3 separate regions of the Homo sapiens genome follow, and regions 2 and 3 are each linked to region 1. The links are contacts of gene promoters, found by promoter capture Hi-C in human tissues and cell types (Jung and others, 2019). All regions are on one chromosome and are shown on one strand. The core of a region is centred on a gene start or on the middle of the fragment in contact, and the rest is flanking DNA. Distances in the headings are between cores, read along the strand shown. Region 1 holds the start of CSRP1 (cysteine and glycine rich protein 1). Region 2 overlaps NAV1 (neuron navigator 1). Region 3 overlaps LMOD1 (leiomodin 1).

Evidence for each region. The method cuts DNA at HindIII sites, captures the fragments that hold promoters and counts their contacts. A contact is called where the count stands out against the background at its distance.
Region 2: a fragment that was not itself captured here is called in contact with the fragment with the promoter of CSRP1 in region 1 in 4 of the 25 tissues and cell types used here (bladder, heart left ventricle, hippocampus and 1 more).
Region 3: a fragment that was not itself captured here is called in contact with the fragment with the promoter of CSRP1 in region 1 in 1 of the 25 tissues and cell types used here (neural progenitor cells).

Annotation. Positions count from the first base shown.
Region 1 is chr1:201,505,243-201,508,736 of GRCh38, forward strand. CSRP1 (cysteine and glycine rich protein 1) reads right to left here and starts at 1,881. Exons shown (of 6, transcript NM_004078.3): 1 at 1,828-1,881. CSRP1-AS1 (CSRP1 antisense RNA 1) reads left to right here and starts at 1,971. Exons shown (of 2, transcript NR_160747.1): 1 at 1,971-2,177. RefSeq lists a silencer at 1,583-2,212. The HindIII fragment of the contact is 18,281 bases long and covers 1-3,494 here.
Region 2 is chr1:201,761,687-201,765,096 of GRCh38, forward strand. The region is part of intron 7 of NAV1 (neuron navigator 1); the gene reads left to right. The region is part of intron 2 of IPO9-AS1 (IPO9 antisense RNA 1); the gene reads right to left. LOC124904483 (a long non-coding RNA gene) reads right to left here. Exons shown (of 2, transcript XR_007066790.1): 1 at 1-3,410. Among named protein-coding and RNA genes, the nearest start is that of MIR5191, 44 kb to the left of the region's middle. The HindIII fragment of the contact is 4,715 bases long and covers 1-3,410 here.
Region 3 is chr1:201,914,456-201,918,240 of GRCh38, forward strand. All of the region lies in intron 1 of LMOD1 (leiomodin 1), which reads right to left. Among named protein-coding and RNA genes, the nearest start is that of SHISA4, 27 kb to the left of the region's middle. RefSeq lists an enhancer at 1-254. The HindIII fragment of the contact is 6,571 bases long and covers 1-3,785 here.

The sequences.
Region 1 (3,494 bases), core at 631-3,130:
TTGCTACCCCACTCATTCATCAAATGTTTGCTGATCACTCAGTCAAGTGTCACTACACTCCCAGGCTGCAACTCTGGCCCAGTCAGGACTCACTAGCTCCAGAGGCAGATGCACATGTGTGCAATTAAAAGAGCAAACACCTGGGCCAGGAAGGCAGGTGCTAAGACAGACCACAGGCAAATAGGCCACAGCACCCCTGTTTTTCCCATTTTATTAGCAGGCCAATTGCAGAGTTGATGGGCCTTCTCTTTAGTTTCTCTCCTGCTTCTTCTTCCCCATACCCTCCATCCTGGGCATCTCAGGCCTTGCAGACAGTTCTCTCCTCCCTCTCCTCTAACCCACACTACACCCTCTGCAGGATAAACTTCCTTCCTCGTCTGACTGCCTCCGCCCCGGATATCCTCTCCAAGGCAAAGAGTCATTCACTGGAAGACCGTGAGCAGGAGGAGGCTGGATTTAGGAAACAATGGGTAAAAGCTGCCCTCCAGCAGCTGAGGGCTGAGGACAGTCTCTCTCAAAAGAGGTAGCCAGAAACCAGCTGGAGAGTCAGGAGGCAGCAGTTGAGTGAGAGCAGTTGAGGGGAGGCTCAGTACCCATCCCCAAATCCCACCTGGGGAAAATCCCCAACATGCAGTCTGAGAGGACAGAGGGAGACAACCAGCACCTCCAGCCTCCTTAGCTTCTGGGAGGAAGGCAAGGGATGAGGGGAGGACAAGAAAGACAGTAACTGAGAGATCACTCCTGTGTTGGAGGTTCTGTGTAATATGCTCCCCAAGTAGCATCCCTGAAAGAAACTGAGACATTGAGAAGTTAAATAGTTTGTCCAAGGAAACCTGCGCGTTAAGTGGCAAATCCAAGAGTCAAAACTCTGCCTTCCAAACAATCCCACCAAGACTCCAAGCCACCTCTTCATGATATACTGATATACTTTCTACCAGGGCCCAGTGGATTTCCTCGGTGCCACTGTGATAGTATCCCAGCGTGGGGAGAGCCTGCCCATTCATTCACTCTCAGGGAGCAGCTGGTGGGTGGCTGGAGCCCAGGGCTCTAGGCAGAGCCTGAGCCCACTATTGCTCCAGCCGATTCCTGGGTCCTGGTTAGTTCACAACAGCACCAGAACCAGAAGCATGCAAAATATTCTCTAGTCTGTACCAGTAGATACAATACCTGCCTCAGAGGGCTGATTGTTAGCTAACACATTGTGATTTGCTTTAAATGTGCTCAATACCAGCCCCTTTATCACTTCCCAGCTTTCAAGGACTGAGGCCACAAAACACTGACTGCAGGCTCTTTCAGGTTTCAGTAACCATCACCACCTAGCACCAAGATTTGGAGTGGAGAGGTTTCCATGCAGTTATTTCACAAGAGGGAAAACTCACACCTGCGCTCAGGGACACAGATGTCCAAGGTCAGGCCCAGATGTTTGCCCCACCCCGCCCGCGGGCATTTTCTCCCCAGCAGGAGGGTGAGGGAGGGGGTGGCACGGATGCCCTCATCTCTCTGCCATACAATGAGCGTCAGTGGCGCGCAGAATCGCCGATTGTTCTGCCCGACTTGCAGGCGGTTGCGGGGAGCCGGGTCGCCCTGGGTCACGCACACGCGGAAGTCAACTGTGTCCAGGAAGCCCAGGAAGGCCCGGGATGGGGACGGACCTAGTGCCTCCAGAAAAGAGCAGCACTGCCCGGGCTAACTGCGGTCACTTCTCACAGTTCCCCGCCTGCGACAGCCCCGGGGCTGCGGCGGGGCTGGCAAGACCGGGAGGCGCTGAGTGCGTGCCCAGGCGCCCCTCCGCGGCGGGCAGAGCCGCGCGACTCAGGGCGCACTCACCTGGCAGCTGGCTCGGCGGCGCAGGGGCGGCAGGCGCTCTCGGAAGTGGCGGCTGGGTGCGCCCGGCCTGCGCGCCGTTTTGTTCCGCTCCGCGGAAGGCGTGTCCCGGGCCACGCCAACCAGTGGGCTTTGCACACTGCACCACTCCAGGGCTGATGTCATGGCGCGAAGCCCGGCGGTGCTGCCCTCCTAGGCCCCGGGAAGGCCGGCCGGCAGGGGCGGGGGCAGGAGTCGCCGACTCTGGGGGTGCTCCGAGCTCGTGCTGCGGTCCCACTGTGCGCCCTGTCGCCGCCACCGCGGAAAACGTCTTGCACGTGCGAGGGGCATTTCAGGAGTTTCCTGTCTGTCAGGTGAGAAGGCGGAGATATGACCTTAGAGGTCAGACCCATGATAAACTTGAGCCCCTAACGAAAGGGTGTCTCGAATTTACTTGTCCTGGTGGCAGAGGGTGAGGGACACATTTTGGGCGCCAGGGTAAGACAGACCCTTCCAGGGCAGGTCTGATTCTGCCCATCCACTCACTAGCTGGGCCCTGGGCCTAGACAGCCCTTCTGGGTTCAGGGTCATCTGTGAACGGCGTGTAATCTACAGGGATGTGAGGGGCTAAAAGGAGATCCGGTAGGACCCGCAGACCTTCAGCAGCACCCGGCATGTAATAGACACTCAATAAATGTAACTCCCCCCTCCAACAGCTCTTGCCCCTCAGTTTTTCCCAGTCTTCCCTGCTACCCTAAGGACAACACCTGGAAAAAGGTGTTCTCCCGCAAAAGCAGCAGTTCTGAAAAGTGGGTGCCTCCATAGAGGCTTTTCTCTGGGGCTCCAACCTTCAGTAGGACAGACACAGGCTCAGGCCACTCAAGCTGCCCCTGGGGCAGTTTCCAGGGGACATTCTGTCCACACCTCCTCACCCAGTCCCCAGCCCTTCCTGAGTGCCCCGTGCAGGCATTTCAGGGAGCAGAGAAGCTCACAGCCTCCAGCTGGTCACCCTACACCCCAGGTGGCCCATAGATGCAGCTGCTATGTCTTCCACCCTGGGCAGGTGTCAAGGGTTCAGGCCCCAACCGGCTTCACTTAAAGCCCTGGTTTGCTGAATCAACTTTTTGCCAGGAATAAAGTTAAGCATCTTATGATCTAGAAAATGAAGTATTTGGCCAGGCACTGTGGCTCACGCCTGTAATCCCAACACTTTGGGAGGCCGAGGCAGGCAGATTGCTTAAACCCAGGAGTTCGAGACCTGGTGAAACCCTGTTTCTACAAAAAAATTAAAAAAATTAGCCAGGCGTGGTGGTGTGTGCCTGTAATCCAAGCTACTCGAGAGGCTGAGGTGGAAGGATCACTTGAACTCAGGAGGCAGAGGTTGCAGTGAGCCAAGATTGCACCACTGCACTCCAGCCTGGGCGACAGAGCAAGAGTGTTTCTCAAAAAAAAAAGTGTTTATCTAGGTTTTTCTTGCTTTCTACCATAAGTAACATCTTTCCTTTGGCCAGGTCCATCCTATAAACAAGGCCCTCCAAGATTAAAATGTCTAGAAGCACACAACCAGTGTTTCTTGCAGATTGGGCCATCTTCATCTGACCCAACCAAGATGAAGGAGGAGAAACCAGAAGAATTTCTGGTCACGGCTGCACTGACTAAGCAATAGTTAAACAGGTCCATTAAACTGCAGA
Region 2 (3,410 bases), core at 619-3,118, 260 kb after region 1:
CCAAAAATGGTTTTTGCTTCTGTCAACCCTACATAAGTCATTCCATCCCACTTTAAGGCATCGCCTACTTCCAGAATGGAGGATTGGCAATGACGTACAAGCAGTACGAATGCTTCTTTTTTTCTTTTTCTTCTCTATTCTTTTCCAACCTCTTCCTTTTTTTCTGAGTCAAAACTAAATCAGAGGCCATGCTCAGTGATTCATGCCTGTAATCCTAGCACTTTGGTAAGCCAAGGCGGGAGGATAACTTGAGGACAGGAGTTCAAGACCAGCCTAGGCGACATAGTGAGAACTTGTCTCTACAAAAAAATTAAAAAAAAAAAATTATCTGGGCATGGTGGCACCCGCATGTAGTCCCACCTACTCAGGAAGCTGAGGTGCGAGGATCCCTTGAGCTCTGGAGCTTGAGGCTGCAATGAGCTGTGTTTGCACCACTGCATTCCAGTTAGGTGACAGAGTGAGACCCTGTCTCAAAGAAAACAAACAAACAAAAAACCCAAAAAACTGAATCAGTAGTAGAAAAATCTTGTTTTGACTTGAAAATTGAGCAGGTTAGATCAGAAGTAATAAAAGTGGAAATCCAAGAGGTCATTCTTAGCCCAGAGTTGCTTTTTTGCCCAGGACTTGTCAGTTACGGAATTGTTATTTCTTTTCATTTTTAGGGGTTCTTTTTTTGGTCTAGCCCCAGGGCTGGTGACCTTTGGCCTGCTTGGCCAAATCCAGTCCACTGCCTGTTTTTGTATGGCCTGCAAGCTGAGAGTGGATTTCACATTTTTAAATGATTGGAAGGAACAAAAGAAGAACAATATTTTGTGACACATGAAAATTATGTGAAATTCAAATTTCAGTGGACATAAATAAAGTTCTATTGGAACATAGCCGGATTCATTTGTTTACATACTATCTATGGCTGCTTTTGTGCTACAATGGCAGAATTGAGTAGTTGTGACAGAGACTTTATGGCCTGCAAAGCCTCATAAATATTTACTATCTGGCCAACCCCTACTCTGGACCCTTAAGCCAAACTTTTCCTACTTTTCGGAGTATTGTCAATTATCTCTTACTTCCTTATTGGTTTAGAGAAGGTGCAGAAATGCAGACACTATTCTACATTTCTTTTCAATTAGCTAGGGATTTTGGAATTGTGCAGTGGACTCCTAAGGAAACACTGCAGGAAGAATATGGGTGAGACAGTGGTGAGGAAGTAGGAATTATCTCATGAAATTTAAAATCAAATATCATTTTCATCCCTTTCCAAAAATCCTTAAAATGGGACATCTATGTGGGTTTTAGAAAGAGAAAAAAAAAATGTTGGTTCTGAACAGAATCCTACTGACTATTCTTAGAGCCTCCTTCAGGCCCTCTCCAATAAAAATATGGAAACTCAAAATAAGGTCACTCACATCAATTGACACCTTAATTTTGTGACTTTTTAGTTTTCCTCAAGATGTTTTCTTGACCAAGTTAAGAATCAAAATCATTTTCCTTGATGTTCAAACTTTCTAAAGATTTTGATTAGTGGGTGTTCAATTACCTGTTTATACTTGGGGAAATTGAGGCTAAGACAAGTACACTAACTCAACTGTAGTAATAGCGACTAGTAGAGATAGAAGTACATACTCAGTACTCCAGAGCTTGCTCTAGAGGACTGCCTTTTATCTTTTGAAGGTGAATTTGATGGTATCCCTGAGAATTTTTTGCTTTTCTTGAGATTCTCAGTTATCTTTCACTCTTTGAAGGATTTCAATTTCCTGACTTGGAAACATCTGAAAAAGAGAGGAAGGTGCCTTGTTTTTTCATTCCCACTCCTGTGAAAGAAGTACAGGAGGGGAAAGACTTGGGGCAGACAAAAAGGGAAATCTCTGAAACTAGAGAAAACTCAAACAAATTGTGGCCAGCCGAGTCAGCATTCCTCACCCACAGTTGGTCCTAATTAAGGAGACTCCCGTTAAACAGCTCAACTTTCTGCTCTTTCTTCTTGCTCTGGCCCTGCCAGCTGACATGGCAAAGCTTTAACCGACGGCTTGGAAACAGTCTCTCATGTCTTTCCTTCTATATTCTCACTTCTCTGTCTCTCCTCTACTACCCTGCAATTACCCTTTCCCACATTAAGATCCCAATAAAATATATTGATACCTCTAATCCAATTGCATCCATTTTGTTCCACAAAGTGCTATCCAAGCTGTTTGCAGGGCTGAATACTTGTGTATCATGTCATTACAGGAGCACATATAGAGCCTGATTTCATCACAGAAAGATGGAATTTCTCCGGGATTATTTCGCTGCCAAGTCCAAGCAGCAATGATAATTCCTTCCACTTTGCCTGACTCCTTGATTTTCTCAATCCATAGCTTCTACTGTGCCTAGCAGATGGATTCGGGTATTTAATTTTCCTATAATAACCTATGATATCATGATTTAAAAAAATCTGATGGCAGTAAATCTGAATTGAAAACTAGCCTGAATCATAGAGGTGGTCAATATCCAATGTAGTTCAATGGGGGATATTGACATGTAGATAAAATAAGCTTATTTTCGTAACTTAATGGTTGTGGTAGTCTGCTCAAGCTGACATAACAAAATACCACAGGGCAGGTGGCTTAAACAATAGAAGTTTATTTTCTCACAGTTCCGAAGCCCAGCAGTGCAAAATCAAGGTGCCATCTGGGTTGGTTTCTGATGAGGCCTCTCTTCCTGGCTGTAGACAGCCACCTTCTCACTGTGTCCTCACATGGCCTTAACTGTGCACACACAGAAAGAGAGCTCTCTGGTGTCTCCTTTTTCTTATAAGGACACGAGTCCTATCAGATGAGAGCTCCACTCTTATAAGATCATTTAATCTTAATTACCTCCCTGAACGCCCCATCTCCAAATACAGTCACTGGGAGTTACAGCTGTAACACATACACTTGGGGGGAACATAATTTATTCCATAACAATGGTCTAAATTTAAGAAACTCTCTTAACCTTAGGGCAAAAATTCAATGCCAGAATCAAGAAAGCAATGCCTAAAGCAGGGTGTTAGGAGGCAAGATGATAATTTAAAGAAAATTTTCTGAGTCATAGACACATTTGAGAATCTGAAAGTATGATCAGATACCAGAAGATTGCACATGCATAGAATTTTATGTATAACTGCAAGGGCATTCGGTTCTCCAGACCAGTTACTTTTCTTTTGCCACTGGCAAGATGGCGTCTGTGAAGAACAAGCACAGAAATGCATGGCTTTATTCTGACTGAGTGGGGTTCTGCCTAGGTCTGGACCTATGGCCCTATTGCCACCATTAAAAACACTTGAACCTTTATCAGAAAGGAGAGTGAGCTAAAGTGGGTATGCTGAAGGTGGCTAGAACTTCAGCAAGGAAGCCTTGAGGTGAACTAGATTTAGAACCAAGCAGACAAGTTTTCAC
Region 3 (3,785 bases), core at 944-3,443, 410 kb after region 1:
TGGATAACACATCCACTTCCTGTGGCTGCACAGGAAGCTTTCAATAAAAGGTAACTGTCATTATGGGTCTAGCTCTCTCCTGGTTCTTCATAGCATCTATCCGAATTCTTCTCCCTTCTCTTAGTATCTCTCGTCCCACTCCACCCCTATTCTTGGCAGACAATCTCCTCTAATTTCTTCCCAGGCAGACAGAGGAAACAACCCATGGCAATTCTCCAACTTCCTGCCACCTCTTCTACAAACTCACCTCCAGGCTCATCTTTCACCTTCCCTCTCCTCCTGCCCAGGCTCACCCCTCCCCACGCACTCTGGTGCCCACCCCTCCTCCCCACATTGCACTCCCGCACCCTCTTCCACAGCCTTAGCCTCTCCCTCTTTCCTGGCCCCTTCCCACCACCCTTTAAACCTGCCCATCTCTCCCGGTTAATCAGATCCTCCTTCTGTCCACAGTCCCTTCCAGCTGTAGCGCCAGCCTTCCCGTATACCCAAACTTCCTCAAAGAGCTCTACTTTTTGATCCGTATTCATTCCTCAATCCAACACACTCTTGCCTCACCCCCAACATTCCATGGAAATTAGTTTCATCCAGATCACTTCTGACCCTCCTGTCACTAAGTCGGATTTATCTTTTATTTCATATATTGCTCAAACTGCGTGGGAAGCATCTGGCGCTATTGGCCAGGTCCTTCCTTCAAAACGCTTCCCCATCGGTTTCCACCGCAGCCTTCATGGCTTTCCTCCTAGCTCTCTGATAGCTCCTTTAGGCCTCCTTCAAGGACCCTCTTCCTTGAGACATGTGGGTGTTGGCAAGGTCTTATTTTAGGCCTCCTTTGTTTTCACCTTTAGAGCCTCTCACCGGATTATCTCATCCATTCTGATGGCATCAGCTGCATTCTACGTACTGATGTCTCTCAAAGCTGGATCTCTGGGCCAGACACTACTAGGAAGGTAGTACCGTCTAATGAATATCTTGGTTTGTGTGCCCCAAAGTACCTCAAAAACTGGACTCCTTATCTTCCCCCACTGCCTTGCCGACCCCTGCACTATTCCCTATCTGGGCAAGTGGCTCCTCTAAACACCCAGTGACTCCAATCAGAACCCGGCTGGGAAGAGGAAAGGAGGGATCTGTGGGGAGGCAACGTGGACCCCTCTGCACCCCGCTCTGCACTCACTCACCCTTCCCTACCAGTAGCCCAAGTGATTTTGGGGGAAGGCTGGGAAATCGACCTATTATATACTCCCTCGTTACCTGCACACAGATACTACAGCCTGAACCCCACTCAGATCAATCCCTCTCCTCCATCCTCACAGATGTTCCCTTGGTCCAGGCCACTATCACCTCTCATGGGGTTATAGCAACAACCTCCTCTCGGTTTCGCTGACCTCCTCCAGGGCGATCCTTGCACGGCAGCCCCAGGGACCTTGCTGAAGGCCAGACCCATCCGAAGCCTTTCAGTGTCTAATGTCTGAACTTTTTTTTTTTGATACAAGGTCTCATTCTCTCCTCTGGGCTGCAGTGCAGTGGTGTGACACGGCTCACTGCAGCCTTGACTTCCTCCAGCTTGTGATCCTCCCACCTCAGCCTCCTAGGTAGCTGCTACTACAGGCATGCACCACCACACCCAGCGGATTTTTGTATTTTTTGTAGAGACGGGGTTTCGCCATGTTGCCCAGGCTGGTCTTAAACTTCTGGGCTCAAGCGATCCACACACCTTGGCCTCTCGGAGTGCTGAGATTACGGTGTGAGCCACCACACCTGGCTTGAACTACTTTTATGATCAGAAAAATACAACAAAGGCACATCTATTCCAGGACTTTGGAAGGTCAGGGTGAGGGGAAGCTGGAGCCCAGGAGTTCAAGACCGTCCTGGGCAACATGGTGAAACTCCATCTCTACAAAAAATACAAACATTAGCCAGGCGTGGTGGCATGTGCTTGTAGCCCTAGCTACCTGGGAGGCTGAGGTGAGAGGATCACCTGAGCCAAGGGAGGTCGAGGTTGCAGTGAGCCGTGATCATGCCACTGCACTCCAGCCTGAGCAACAGAGAGAGACCCTGTCTCAAAAAACAAAACAAAACAAAACAAAACAAAAACCAACAAAAGCTGTTTTATGAAAAAGAAACAAAATTGTCTTTAAATAACTGAGTTTCACAGCAAAAACAAAACAAAATTAAAAACCAAGAGGCATCAGGCCGTGGTGTGGGGAGGAGGGATGGATGGGGCCAGAGGTGGGAGGGAGGGGATTCCCCGTCACTGTGCTCAGTCTTCAGCCCGGCTGTGCTGTGCCCAGGACCTGCCTCGCAGCCTGACCTTCGCCTGGCTCTGTTCCAGCAATTACACATCAGCCCCGGTGATAAACATCAGTGCTGAGCAGAGGGCCAAAGGGTCTCAGGCACTGCCTCCAGCTCCAGCATAAACAGAAACGCCATGATTCATTTTTACCTCCCAAGATGATCTCCAGGGGTCGGAGTGGCGCAATGGCAGCCAAGAAAAGGGCAGCGGTTTGTGAACCTGGGAAAAAAAGGGCATTTTCTGATGCAGTCCTGCGGGAGACCAGGCTTTACAAGAGGAGTGAACGCCACCATCTCAGGGCCTGCTCTGTCTTTGTAGGGAAGGGGAGCAAAGAAACCTTCTGGAAAAGACAAGGATAATGTGCAGATGTGGGTGGCTGGGCACTTACACTGCATGTGTCACCAAACTCTGCCAAGGCTGGGAGGGTTCTTGCCTGCCTTGAGTCTTTAAGGACCAGGGTTTCTAGTGAAAGGGATGGTAAATGGGGGAAGGTGGCCTGACCTCAAAAGCCTGCCAAGAGCCATCAAGAGGCACCAGAAAGGAAGGCACGGTGAGCGGTGTCTGTGTTTCACCTAGGCCCTTACCCCTACCACCAAGGCTTCTGCATTCACTGCAAGTAGAGAAAGACAGAGGCGTTTTGAGGTGAGGGCATGCAACACAGCCTGCAATAGCTAAGACTTCACAGTCAGCGCCATTCTGGCTTCTGCCTGGGGGTTATGCAGAACCCATCACTAGGGGGATGAAGGTTCTTGTGGCAGATCTTCTCGGCCAATGAAGGGTCAACTCCATTGCTCTCAGCAGAACTAAATGCTTTGCCAACTGGTCTGGTGACTCATACTGGGAAGCTTGTAGCAAACCCCATTTTTGGAGAAACCGGGAAATCTCTTTGGGGAGATAAACAAGTCACTGTAGCACTCTGCTCTCTGAAGTGCCTGGCTAGTACTTTCTGCTTCTTCATTTTATCCCAGCACCAAGGAAAACCCAAGCAAGTCTGGGAAATGTTGTAAAGATCTACACAAATGCAAGCTATTTGTCCCAGGCTTCTGGGTCCCACTTAGGTCCCGGAGGGTGGCAGAAGGAACATACTGTTCTTTTACTGCCTGGGGCTGTGAGCAGGAGGCCTGGCTTTCATACAGCCCCTCTCCTGTTCCTTCTAAACAGAAAAGGGTACATTGGCTAAAGCAGGAGCAGCTTTATGGTGTCTGACCTCTGCAGTGCTCCAGGGCCCCATGCTCAGAGGGCCCTACGCTTGGTTTAATTCTCTGCTGTCATCGTCTTGAAAGTTTTAGTAATTCTTGAGCACATTTTCATTTTGCGCTAAGCCCTGCAAATTCTGTAGCCAGTCCTAGGCCTAAGAGGCCAGGGATCAGGGATGGTGCAGCTCTCTGTCTTCCCGCCTTCTCCCTCTTCAGGAATGGCTCTCCCACCCCACAGACACTGGGACATCAGCCTTGACGCTTCCTTTTTCCCTCACCACGTTCCCTTCATCCCACCT